Linked DNA regions of Homo sapiens: region 2 is linked to region 1. Evidence: promoter capture Hi-C in 16 types of primary human blood cells and fetal thymus (Javierre and others, 2016). All regions are on one chromosome and are shown on one strand. Each heading gives the region's core, a stretch centred on a gene start or on the middle of the fragment in contact. The rest is flanking DNA. Distances are from core to core; before and after follow the strand shown. Region 1 holds the start of EPN2 (epsin 2). Region 2 holds the start of B9D1 (B9 domain containing 1).

Region 1 (5,287 bases), core at 115-2,614:
TCAAAGGAAAAGTGGCTATGTGGTTTTGCAAACGTGTTACAAGCTCTCTCCATTTTTATCGTATTTATTGTATCACTAGCTAGACTAATAAAGAAAAAAGAGAAGATACAAGTAAACATAATCAGAAAGGGCAAAGAGGACATTACCACCGACCCCATACAAACACAAAAAAGCCCTCAAAAACTATTATGAACACGTCTATGCACACACACTAAAAAACTTACAATAAATAGATGAATTCCTGGAAAGATACAACCTTTTTTTTTTTTGCCAGAGAATGGAATTCCAGATCCTGGGTTGTTAGAACCTTAAGGGATACTTTCATCCCCTGGTTCCTGTACAGGGAGGAGGAATCTGAGGCTCAGAGAAGTACAGTGACTTGTTTAAGGTCCCTCAGTGAGTTAGGGCAGAGGAAGACTTCTGGCCACAGCTTCCCTGAAGCCAAGGCTAGGCAGAGTGTTGATGTCACCCAGGCAACAGGGATGGTGCCCTCTGCCCACCTAGCAAGCCCTGACTCATGCTCCGCGCCCCTGCTGTGAGAAGTCTCTGCTGACTCCCACCCTGATTGGAGCAGGTTAGTCAGCTTTGAGGTGCAGCCTCCAGTTCTGGCCCCTCCAGTTCCGGGACTCTCATTCGAGGCATTTGGGGCTGTCTCATTTCTGTGCCCAGCACAGGGCTTGGCACAGAGGAGGTGCTTTGTGGGTGCCCGCCAGTCAAGGGTTTCCGTTTTCGTGCCATGTAGGTAACCCCTTGCCATTCGTGCCCTTAGGTAACCCCTTGAGCAGCCTAAAGAAGCCTAGAGACTTCTCCGTTTTTGAGTATATTTTATTGACGTGAAATACACGCACGGAAAAGCGCACAAATCCAAAGTGTACTTCCGCGCATCTTCATAAAGTGAACACACTTGTAGCCTAAGAACCCAACCCTACCAGCGCCCGGCAGGCCCTGGCCCCCTTCCAGTCTCTCCTACTGAACAAGGTTTTTGAGTGAAACCGGCAGGCCGGAGCGTGAGTTTCTGCTTGACGGGGCGGGGTCTGCGCGTGCTGCCCGGCCGTGAGTGTGGGGGGGCCGTGAGTGTGTACGGGGTGGAGTGGCCTGAAGGGGATTAGAGTGCGCGCGTTCGGGTATTAATTTGCCAGGGTTTGTGTGGCGCTCGGGATTGGGGGTTTTTTGGGGGCTCGGGCGTCGACTGTGGGGCGCTGCGGAAGGGTGGGTCGTCCGCGTGGGGTCCTGGAGCGCAGGAGGCGGAGGGGAAGCCGCGCAGGGGCCACTAGGGAGGGGCTCTGGCGGGGTCGCAGGGGCGTGGTCTGCGGGCGTGGGGGCGGGACCTCGGGGCCTCGGGGGCGGGGCCTGAGGGCGCGCGCACGCGTCCGGCGCGCCCCCTCCCGGCCGCCATGTTGGCTGGTGTGTGGGTGTCAAACTGAGCCAGACGCGGCGGTGGCGGCGGCTCCGCGGGCTACGGTCGCTCCCGCCTCTCGAGCGCTGCCGGTGGCCGCAGCGGCGCACCCACGCCGGCCCGGAGGAGCAGAGGTGAGCCACAGCCCGTGGGGCTCCAAGGCCAGAGCGAGTCCCCGGGGCGAGGACCCTCCCCCTCTCCAGGGCGCGGACGCCCCCAGAGCACAGGCTCCCCTACCTCACCAGCCCCGCCAGGGCATGCGCCCCTGCCGCCCCGCTGGTCCCTACGCCAGGCTCTGGGGGATCCCCTTCTTTCCAACCAGGCCCCGCCCCACGGACTGGAGCATGGCCCCCTTCCCATCTGGATCCAGCTTTCCGCTGCAAGGATCTCCCCCCTTACCCGTCCCTATCACCGAGCATCTCCTTTTATGTCCCCAGAGTCCAGGGCGCCCCTTACTCCTACCTCGGATCCTGGAGCCCCGTTCATCTTGGAACAACCCCGCCCCCTCCCCAGAGCACGTTCCTCCTCTCCCCGAGCCCGGCGCCCCTTCCTCCTGAGCCCAGCCTGGTCTCCCGCCAGCCCCCGTGCAGAGCCCGGTCCGGGCGCCCTCCGGGAATCGGGGGAGGGGTCCTTATCTCTGTCCGGGATCCCGCCCGTCTCACCTTTCCTGGGGGCTGTAGCAGGGCCCCCTTCCGTCCTTGGGGACCAGGCTCCCCACTCCCCAGCCCCCACTCCCACGGAACAGCGGGGACGGGGGCGGAAGAGCCAGGCTCCAGCTGCCTTTTGTTCCGCGTGGGATGGCAGAGACCCACCCGGCCCGGCGGTCCTGCTCGGCTGATCCGGGTGGGTGAATGGGTGCGTGGGGTCTGGCCTCTTCCAGGAGAGACTTCCTCTCTCTCCCTGTGGGGCGGCTCCCCTAGAGCCGAGAGCCGAGCGCGTTGGGAGGCTGGCCTTTGCTAGAGGAGTCGGTGCCAACAGGTTTTTGTTTGCGACCTGAAGTTTGCCCAGTGGCTTTCCCTGGGGCAGCTTGAGCTCCCTGTGAATCCCCCCGCCGGAGCTTGTGGAAGGCCGTTTCTCCGCCCAAGGAGTCCGTCTGGGCGACTCCTTCACAGTTGTGCTTCCCTGGGGACGTATCTAAAATCTGTGCTTTAAGAGCGGAGAGGGCTTAACCATCATTAGGGTTCAGATGAGGGAAACTGAGGCCCAGAACTGCAGTAATTTGCCCAAGGTCACGCAGTGATACTGTGTCAGTGCAGAACTAGAAGCTAGGTCTCCAGGCTCTGTTTACCACATTTAATAACTTTTTTATCTTTTAGGGAGATGTTCAGGACCCTACCTTCCCCTTTATTTTTAATATTTATGCAAGAAAGTGGGCAGGAAAATATGAGAAGTAATGAGTTATTCCTTTTCACCTCCAGAAAATATCCTGTGAAAGAAGGGATTGGAACAGGGTGTTAAAATGATGGGAAAAGGTGAATTTTAAGAATCCAAGCTTCCTCTCATTATGTAATATAACGAAGATTTGGCAGAAAACGTGCCTCTTGTAGCTCTAGATACAGAATTTTAGGTGCTGACAAAATCTTATGCTGAATCTGGCACAGCAGTGATTGAGTTAGCATTGATAATTAAGTTTTCATCTGTATTTAAATGAACATCAAAAGGGACTACAATTTGCTTCTGAATGGTACTTGTTCGGTGCTTGTTTTTGGGACAAGTGATTGTGTTGGGGAAGCGCACCTAAACTTTTAAATTTTTTATTTATTTATTTTTTTGAGACGGAGTCTCTGTCACCCAGGCTAGAGTGCAGTGGCACGATCTCGGCTCACCGAAACCTCCGCCTCCTGGGTTCAAGCGATTCTCCTGCCTCAGCCTCCGGAGTAGCTGGGATTACAGGCGCACGCCATCCACCACGCCCGGCTAATCTTTGTATTTTTAGTAGAGACGGGATTTCGCCACGTTGGCCAGGCTGGTCTCGAACTCCTGACCTCATGTGATCCGCCCACCTCGGCCTCCCAAAGTGCTGGGATTACAGGCGTGAGCCAACACTCCCGGCCTAAATCTTTTATTTATCTGTATTTTTACTTTTACATTTTAAAAGCTTATTTATTTCCCTGGTTTTAAAATTGGGCTAGTCATCTTTACCAGTCTCACTGGGCTATTCTTTTGTAAGCAGGGAATGAGATACTGGTTATTAAAGATTTTGGTAAAGTGTAAGTTACTGTAAGGCATGATTCAGGACTGCGTCCCACAAGTCCCCGGACCAGGAGCCAGTTCGGATTGTCTTGTGGGATGTACCAAGTTTCCCTGGTTTACAGAGGCTTTTTGCCTCTCTGAAGCCTGAGCTGGCCAGATGGAGAGCTCTGTGGAAAACTTCCAGCAGTGTGTGTTGGGCCAAGCACTCGAGGTGTGAAGAAATGTAAAACTTTCAAGTGATAATATCTAGCATCGTGTATGCAGCCTTGAAAAATGACCCAACCTTTGTAGAAATTCTCTGTTATCACTAACCCTCTTCCATAATGAGCGGAGGATTTCCCAAGAATTGGGATTCTGATAAGAGTCCTGCAAAAGTTGAAAAGTTTTCGGACTTTTTTTTTTTTTAACTTTAATTAGGAGGAGCGGCAACTTTCGGTTGTGAACTGAAGTACTATGAGATTTTTATGCATGGAATTGTCCTTGTCATACTTTTGGAAAGTACATTAAAATTTTCTAAGTTTTCTGGCGGTTCTCACTGTTCCCCATAACCTTTCTCTCTGGTGTATAGGGGTGTGAAGGACCACGATTGTTGTCATTTTATGACATGTATACCTGGTGACCCTGAGCCTTGGAGAAGTCAAAGGGCTTGGATTTGGGGAATTTTTTTTTTTTTGAGATGGCGTCTCACGCTGTCACCCAGGCTGGAGTGCAGTGGCGCAATCTTGGCTCACTGCAAACCTCTGCCTCCTGGGTTCAAGTGATTCTCCTGCCTAACCTCCCGAGTAGCTGGGACTACAGGCGTGTGCCACCATGCCCGGCTAATTTTTGTATTTTTAGTAGAGATAGGGTTTTGCCATGCTGGCCAGGCTGATCTCGAACTCCTGACTTCAAGTGATCCACCTATCTTGGCCTCCCAAAGTGCTGGGATTACAGGTGTGAGCCACCATGGCCGGCCTTGGATTCGGGGAAGTTGAGGCTGGAAAAGATGTGAGGAATTACGTAGTTTGTATCCCTTTTTTGTCTGCTGGACTTTTAACTCATGTATTCGGTGTAAACAGACCTCTTCTGTCAATACTTTGCCGTCTAGCTCGTCCGATGTTTGGCCCCTTTTTCTCTGCTATCCTACCTTCACCAACCCACACAGTCTGCTGGTGCACTTACGACATTGTCCGTGTATCTGGGGCTCTTGTGACACTGTGACGTCTTTGAGGCCAGTGGTCAGCTTGTCTTTACTTCTCCAGTACCAGGCTCGGTCTCTGATAGATGGTAGATGCTCAGTAAAGGTTTGTCACCAGTATTCCTCGAGGCAGGGGAGCACATTTTTATGGCTCCCTACTGTTCTGTCGCACTGTTGCTGAAATCACTACTGTTGGTTCAGCAATTGTGTGTCAGTTGCATAGGTTTATCCACCTCATCTGCAGGTGAGGAAACTGAGGCCTAGGGAGCTTAAGTTACATGCTCGAGGTCGCGCAGCCAGTAAGTGATTTGAACAGATCTGTTGGACTCCAAAATGTTATTATACCTGTTACCTACTTCGAGGACCAAGTCTCATGGGGATGAAGAGACACACTGCAAGTTAACAGTGGACTGAGGGAGGTGGGGTGATATGATTAAGGTGGTTGAGGATGGGAAGAGCACATTTGTTTTTTGTCAGATGCATTGTGAAATGAATGTTTATGTCCATCTGTTGAGTTTTTG
Region 2 (5,397 bases), core at 241-2,740, 120 kb after region 1:
ACAGTCCCTCACCTGGTGGAGGCAAGCTACCCCTTGGGAAGTCCTGGAAGGAGAGCTCCTACTCTGTCTTTTTACTCCAGGTCCTCCCCACTGGCTGAGGAGAGGCCAAATGGTGAGCGGACTGGCCAGAGTGTCCACAGCTCAGCCACGTCCAGGCTGGCTCACTGGGGCCTGCCTCCTACTGCAGGTGTTGCTCTTTGCTGCCCCGGGGAAGCTCACAGGGTAGGGCTTCTGAGTGCAGTCTTGGTGGATGGATCAGGGAGTCCAACCATGGCTGTGTCCTCTGCTCCCGCTTTACCAGGAACACTCATGTTTGGGTTCCCCTGAACTCAGTCTCTACCTCTTAACTTGTTCTGAATGGGGAGGGGAAGGATATGACACCTTCAGAAACCCCAAAAGTCATGAAGGCGGTAAGGGAGGCCCAAGAGTCCAGCTTACCGCTGTGGGGGCCCAGTCCTGGCCGTACACAAAGCAGTACTTGCAGTAGAGGTCATCATACTCTGGAAACTGAAAAAAGCACAGACAGATTCTGTCGACTGGTATTCATGCTGAGGCCAATGCATTTGCTAGGCAGGTGCAGCCAAGGGGAATTCTGAACGTGAGACACCTGGGAGTGGGTCTAAGAGACGGCTGGAGATGTGTTCAGAGGAGAGGCTGAGGACCAAGAAGCGGGAGTCCACGGGAGACTCCCAGGTGCCACGGCCCCTGGCTTTTGCTCAGGCTCTGCCTTGTCTGATTTGTCCTTCCTACTTCATCCGGAAAACTCCTGCTCACCCTTCAAAACTTACCCTTCAGGGAGCCTGCTCTAACTCTCAAGCTGGTTTAAGGTCTCCTCTTGGCTCCCTTAGCCCCGTGCTTCCCTCCATAAAAGCAATGATTGCCTGTGTCTAAGTCTGTCAGTTCCTCTAGACCATGAGTAGAGAAGAGATTTAATGCCTTTCTGTGTCCCCACTGCCTGGCACAGGGCTGGGCACAGATAAGGTCTAAGGCAGGGGTCCTCAACCAGTCCGTGGCCTGTTAGGAACGGGTCCACACAGCAAGAGGTGAGGAGCAGGCGAGCAAGCAAAGCTTCAACTGTATTTACAGCTGCTCCCCATTGCTCGCATGACCACGGGAGCTCCACCTCCTTGTCAGATCAGTGGCGGCATTAGATTCTCATAGGAGCACGAACCCTACTGTGAACTGCACATGTGGGGGATCTAGGTTGCATGTTCCTTATGAGAATCTAACGCATGATGATCTGTCACTGTCTCCCATCACACCCAGATGGGACCATCTAGTTGCAGGAAAGCAAACTCAGGGCTCCCACTGATTCTACATTATGGTGAGTTGTATAATTATTTCATTATTATTTACAAGGTAATAATAGAAATAAAGTGCACAATAAATGTAATGTCCCCAAATCATCCCAAAACCATCCCTCGCCACCTGGTTTTCCACAAAACCAGTCCCTGGTGCCAAAAAGGTTGAGGACCACTGGTGTAAGGGAATGGTGCTGAAGTGAAAGGTCTGAGAACCCAGGAAGCCATCATATGCAAGGCTGGAGCTGAGGCCCTGAAAAGAGGGAGGTGCTGAGAGCAGAGCAGGGAGGAACAGTGTGACTGTCAGTGTGTGTGTGGCGGGGGGGTCGCTGATGCTGAGAGCACAGACACATGTGACTCAGCCCAGCCGAGAGCCCCTAATAGGAAAGGACAGGAGAGTGGGGAAAGACGGTCTTAGGCACTAGGCTAAGGCAGAGGCGGACAGGGTGGGAGCATGGAGTAGTATCCCTGATGAAATAGGAAGGCAGGAGACACCTACAAAGCATCAGGCCCTGTCAGAGCCTTACCCAAACCGTCTCAGTCAATCCTCACAATAATATTATAAAATAATAATAAACACCACCTCCAACAGCCTGGAAGGACAGTGTAGTGAAGCTTTGAGGTCAGATAGGCGTGGGTTCAATTCCCAGACAGGCCAGTTCCTTTGGTATATTTCCCCAGCTGTAAAATGGGGGTGTTAGTAGTGCCTATCTGGTAAGGCTGTAAGGGTGGACCAGTGCGGAGCACCGACTTTGGGACATATTGAGGACTTGGTGAGCGTTGGTTTATATTTACAATAAATGATTCCTCTAAAGTGTAGGGGGATGGGGAATAGCGTCCCTCGGGCCTAGCAGGCACACCTTCCTTGGGTCAATTCCAGGCCACCACCATTGTTGGATGGTTGGATTCGAACCCGAGTTCAAGGATCTGGGGATTCAGAACGCGGGACAGTAACTCCACACGGGACACAGCGCAAATGCTGGAAACTCGGCCAAGCCTCGGCTCCTCGCGTTAACCCCAGGAGGCTCCTGCCAGTGATCCAAGCAAGTGGGCATGACCCGTGCGAGGGCCCACAGGCTTGCCCGAGTGTGACCTCGGTACTAGCTCAACATCTCGAGGTCTGCTTCTATTCCTGCACATCGGGACTCAGGATCCGGGCAACCTCGCGCCAAGCTCTCCAATGCTGGCTCCCCTCCCCCGCCTAACCGAGAGGCTCAGAGGAATGACGTGGCTCTCCGGGGGCCACAGGGCAGCCCGGGGGGTTGCGGGAAGGGCCCCGGGGGACGCTGGGGGGCGGGCCCCGGCGGGGTCCACGGCCGCTCACCTGGGCGCTCTCCACCTGCCCGTTGACCATGAGTAGAAAGACGCTAGGACTCGCGGTCGCCATGGCAGGTCTGGGGGTGCCGGGGGGACCCACCTAGGCCGCGCGCGGTTGCTAAGAGACGCCGGCGTTGCCCTAGAAACAGACGGCGTAGCGCGCAGGACACGTTTCTTGGCAGCGACACCTTCGCGAAGGCCACGCGAGTGCGCGTGTGGCATGCGCAGGCGCAGTGAACGGGCGCCGTTATAAGGGGGCGGGGCACAAGGGGCGGGGATCCACGCCGAGGCTCCACCCCTCCTTAGGGCAGGTATGACCGAGAGCTGGGGCGGGAGCGTTGACCTGTCGGGTAAAGCCAGCCCTACCGCTCGACTCAGTTGCACGCGCAGGGAGTGTGTGTTCACTCTGACTCGGCCCGGCTCCCCGTCCCCGCCGAAGCGCAGAGGCGAATGAGAGCTGAGTCCTGGGGAGCAGCGCTCCGACTCACGCCCTCAGCAAGCCGAGTGTTTAAAATACATTCAGCCACTAGATGTCGCTGTGGCCCCACCGCGAGGACGCGGAGGGAGGCGCTGCAGAGCACGGGCGACGTGACCACAGCTGTCGGGGCTAACTCTGGAATGCCGGGTGCTCGGAGGAGCCTCCCCAGCTGGGGCCAAGCAGCGTCCAAGCAGGTGAAAAGGATGCGCCCCTGTGGCTTGGAGACGCTTGCCCTCGAAAAAGTTTATTAAACAAACTTGGGAGGGACCTCAAGAATCCTTACATCCAAGCCATCGCTCTTTAGTTCGAAGCTGGGGAAACTGAGGCCCGCAGCGGGCGGCGCCTGGCACCCCAATCAGCCAGCGCTCAGGGGAGTTGCTAGCCAAAATCCACGAATCTGTCAAGATACAGTCTTGTATCTTAGTGGCCTGTCACAGAGTAAGCACTTGGTAACTACTAACTTGTTGATAAATGAATAATTGAAGACATCTCCATTTTACAGAGGAGGAAACAGATTCAGATGGCAAAGGCAGGTAAGTAGCTAAGTCAGGATTCAAACCCAGGACTCCAGAGGCTAACAACCCTCACTGCCTCTGTCTTGTCCTGGGCCAGCCCCAACAGCATCTGTTGGCAGAGGTGTCAAAGGAGACGTTGGAGACATTATCTTGGATCCAGGAAATGAAGGGATTCACAGGTGTGTAGACTCCCGGGAGGCCAGGCTCCGAGCAGGGACCCCAGGTCATCACATTCTGCAGCTTCTAGCTTGGGAGCAGACTAGGGGAGTCCCATCAACCATCTGCACGAGGGAGGGAAGGAGCAGTCTCAGCCCAGCCTGCACCCACTGAACCACCCCCTGCCTAGTGAGCAAAGATATTTGATCAGGGGAGGGAGGCAGCGGGTAACCAGTTCACACATCTGACAAGAGCAGCTGGGGGAGGGGATGGGTGGGCTGGTGGCCCAAGTGCTGCACCCAGAGCCCAAGACAGGGCCCATTTCCCCTCCTGGAGAGGGGGTCATACTCCCTTCTTCCCCCGCTCTGTCCATCTCTTTCCAGTTAAAGTGCTTTCTCCCACACATTCTATCAGTCTCACCCAATTATTTCCTCCCTTTGGCCTTTGAGGCTCGGTGTTGCACACAAGTTAGTTTTCAGCAAAATGCTTGTAGTTATCGAATAACTGGGGGCTCCCAGTAGTTTAAGACCTGGCTATACCAAAGGTGGCCCCACATTCAAATAGGACATAATGGGGGAGTCTCCCCAAGGGGTGGGAAGTTCTAGGGTGGCCTTCAGGGGTACAAATAAGCCCGACCCCTGGGTGTTGGGGAATGGAAGACTCCAGGATAGGATGGGAGGGTGACCAGGCCTAACTTTAACAAGTCTAGTGGCATTAGAAGCGACTTTAGGAGAGGGGTCTCAGGGGCTTGCATAGGGGCTTGCATAGGGCCTGCTGGAATCCTTACCACCAGTTCAAGGGCCCAGTGGAGAGCCTGGTGTACTAGAAGTCCTTGGGCAGGCTGTCCTTCAGGTCAGGACAGTCAGGTTGGAGGAGAAGGTAGTTTCTGCAGATGCTGACACACAGCGATCTCAGCAGGACACTCTGCAGCTCTTGGGGTGGGATGTAGGGATCTGCAATGGGGTGGGGCAGACCCTCAGCCCAGCTGACATCCAGCCGATCTGCACCAGTCCAGCCATGCTGGTTGTTAACATATATTGCTGAGCTTCCCTGCCTGTGCCTGTGCCAAGTCTCTCCACCCCCAGATGCCTTCCTGGGCTCCTAGACATTCCTCGCTCCCACCTCACTCTTAGTACAGCTCTGTCCTCTGGTACACTCCCACGCAGTCCCCTCAGGGAAGCTTCCAGCACATTGGGCAGGCGGGGCTGTCAGCCATTGGGCAGGGGTGAGGCTGGAAGCTGGCTTGAGCAGAGCAGGTGTCAGCGCCAGCCCTCTTCCCTGCATGCCTATGGCCATGGTGCTGCCGGGCAGCTGGCCAGAGCCCCTGCAGGGTCCCAAGCTCCACCCTGGCCATCTGCCTCCCCCAGTCTCTCAACCATCCCAGGCTTCTGCTCCCATCCTTACTGAAATCGGGTTCAAACCCCTGGCCCCAGCAGAGCTGTCTCAGGAAGAGGGAACAGTGGGATTGAGTGGCCAGGGGGACGGCCTGCACAGCGCTGGTGAGCGACGGAGGCCTTGCCCCTTGCCAGTTGTGCCAGGACCAGGCTACCAAACCCAGAGCCCTCGGGCCCTGCTGAGGACAAGAGCAGCTCCCCCATGGTAACCTGATCTCACAAGAGTCCATCTGCAG

The links. The method cuts DNA at HindIII sites, captures the fragments that hold promoters and counts their contacts. A CHiCAGO score of 5 or more calls a contact.
Region 2: a fragment that was not itself captured here is called in contact with the fragment with the promoter of EPN2 in region 1 in 5 of 17 cell types (naive B cells, endothelial precursors, total B cells and 2 more); the score reaches 8.1 in naive B cells.

Annotation. Positions count from the first base shown.
Region 1 is chr17:19,236,002-19,241,288 of GRCh38, forward strand. It overlaps EPN2 (epsin 2), which reads left to right and starts at 1,365. Exons shown (of 11, transcript NM_014964.5): 1 at 1,365-1,530. RefSeq lists a silencer at 1,273-1,742. The HindIII fragment of the contact is 5,263 bases long and covers 1-2,886 here.
Region 2 is chr17:19,359,882-19,365,278 of GRCh38, forward strand. It overlaps B9D1 (B9 domain containing 1), which reads right to left and starts at 2,842. Exons shown (of 7, transcript NM_015681.6): 1 at 2,626-2,842; 2 at 439-507. The coding sequence starts at 2,688. LOC105371573 (a long non-coding RNA gene) reads left to right here and starts at 2,896. Exons shown (of 3, transcript XR_934302.4): 1 at 2,896-3,290; 2 at 3,599-3,629. RefSeq lists enhancers at 2,302-2,441, 2,901-3,685, 3,242-3,311 and a silencer at 2,482-2,751. The HindIII fragment of the contact is 848 bases long and covers 1,067-1,914 here.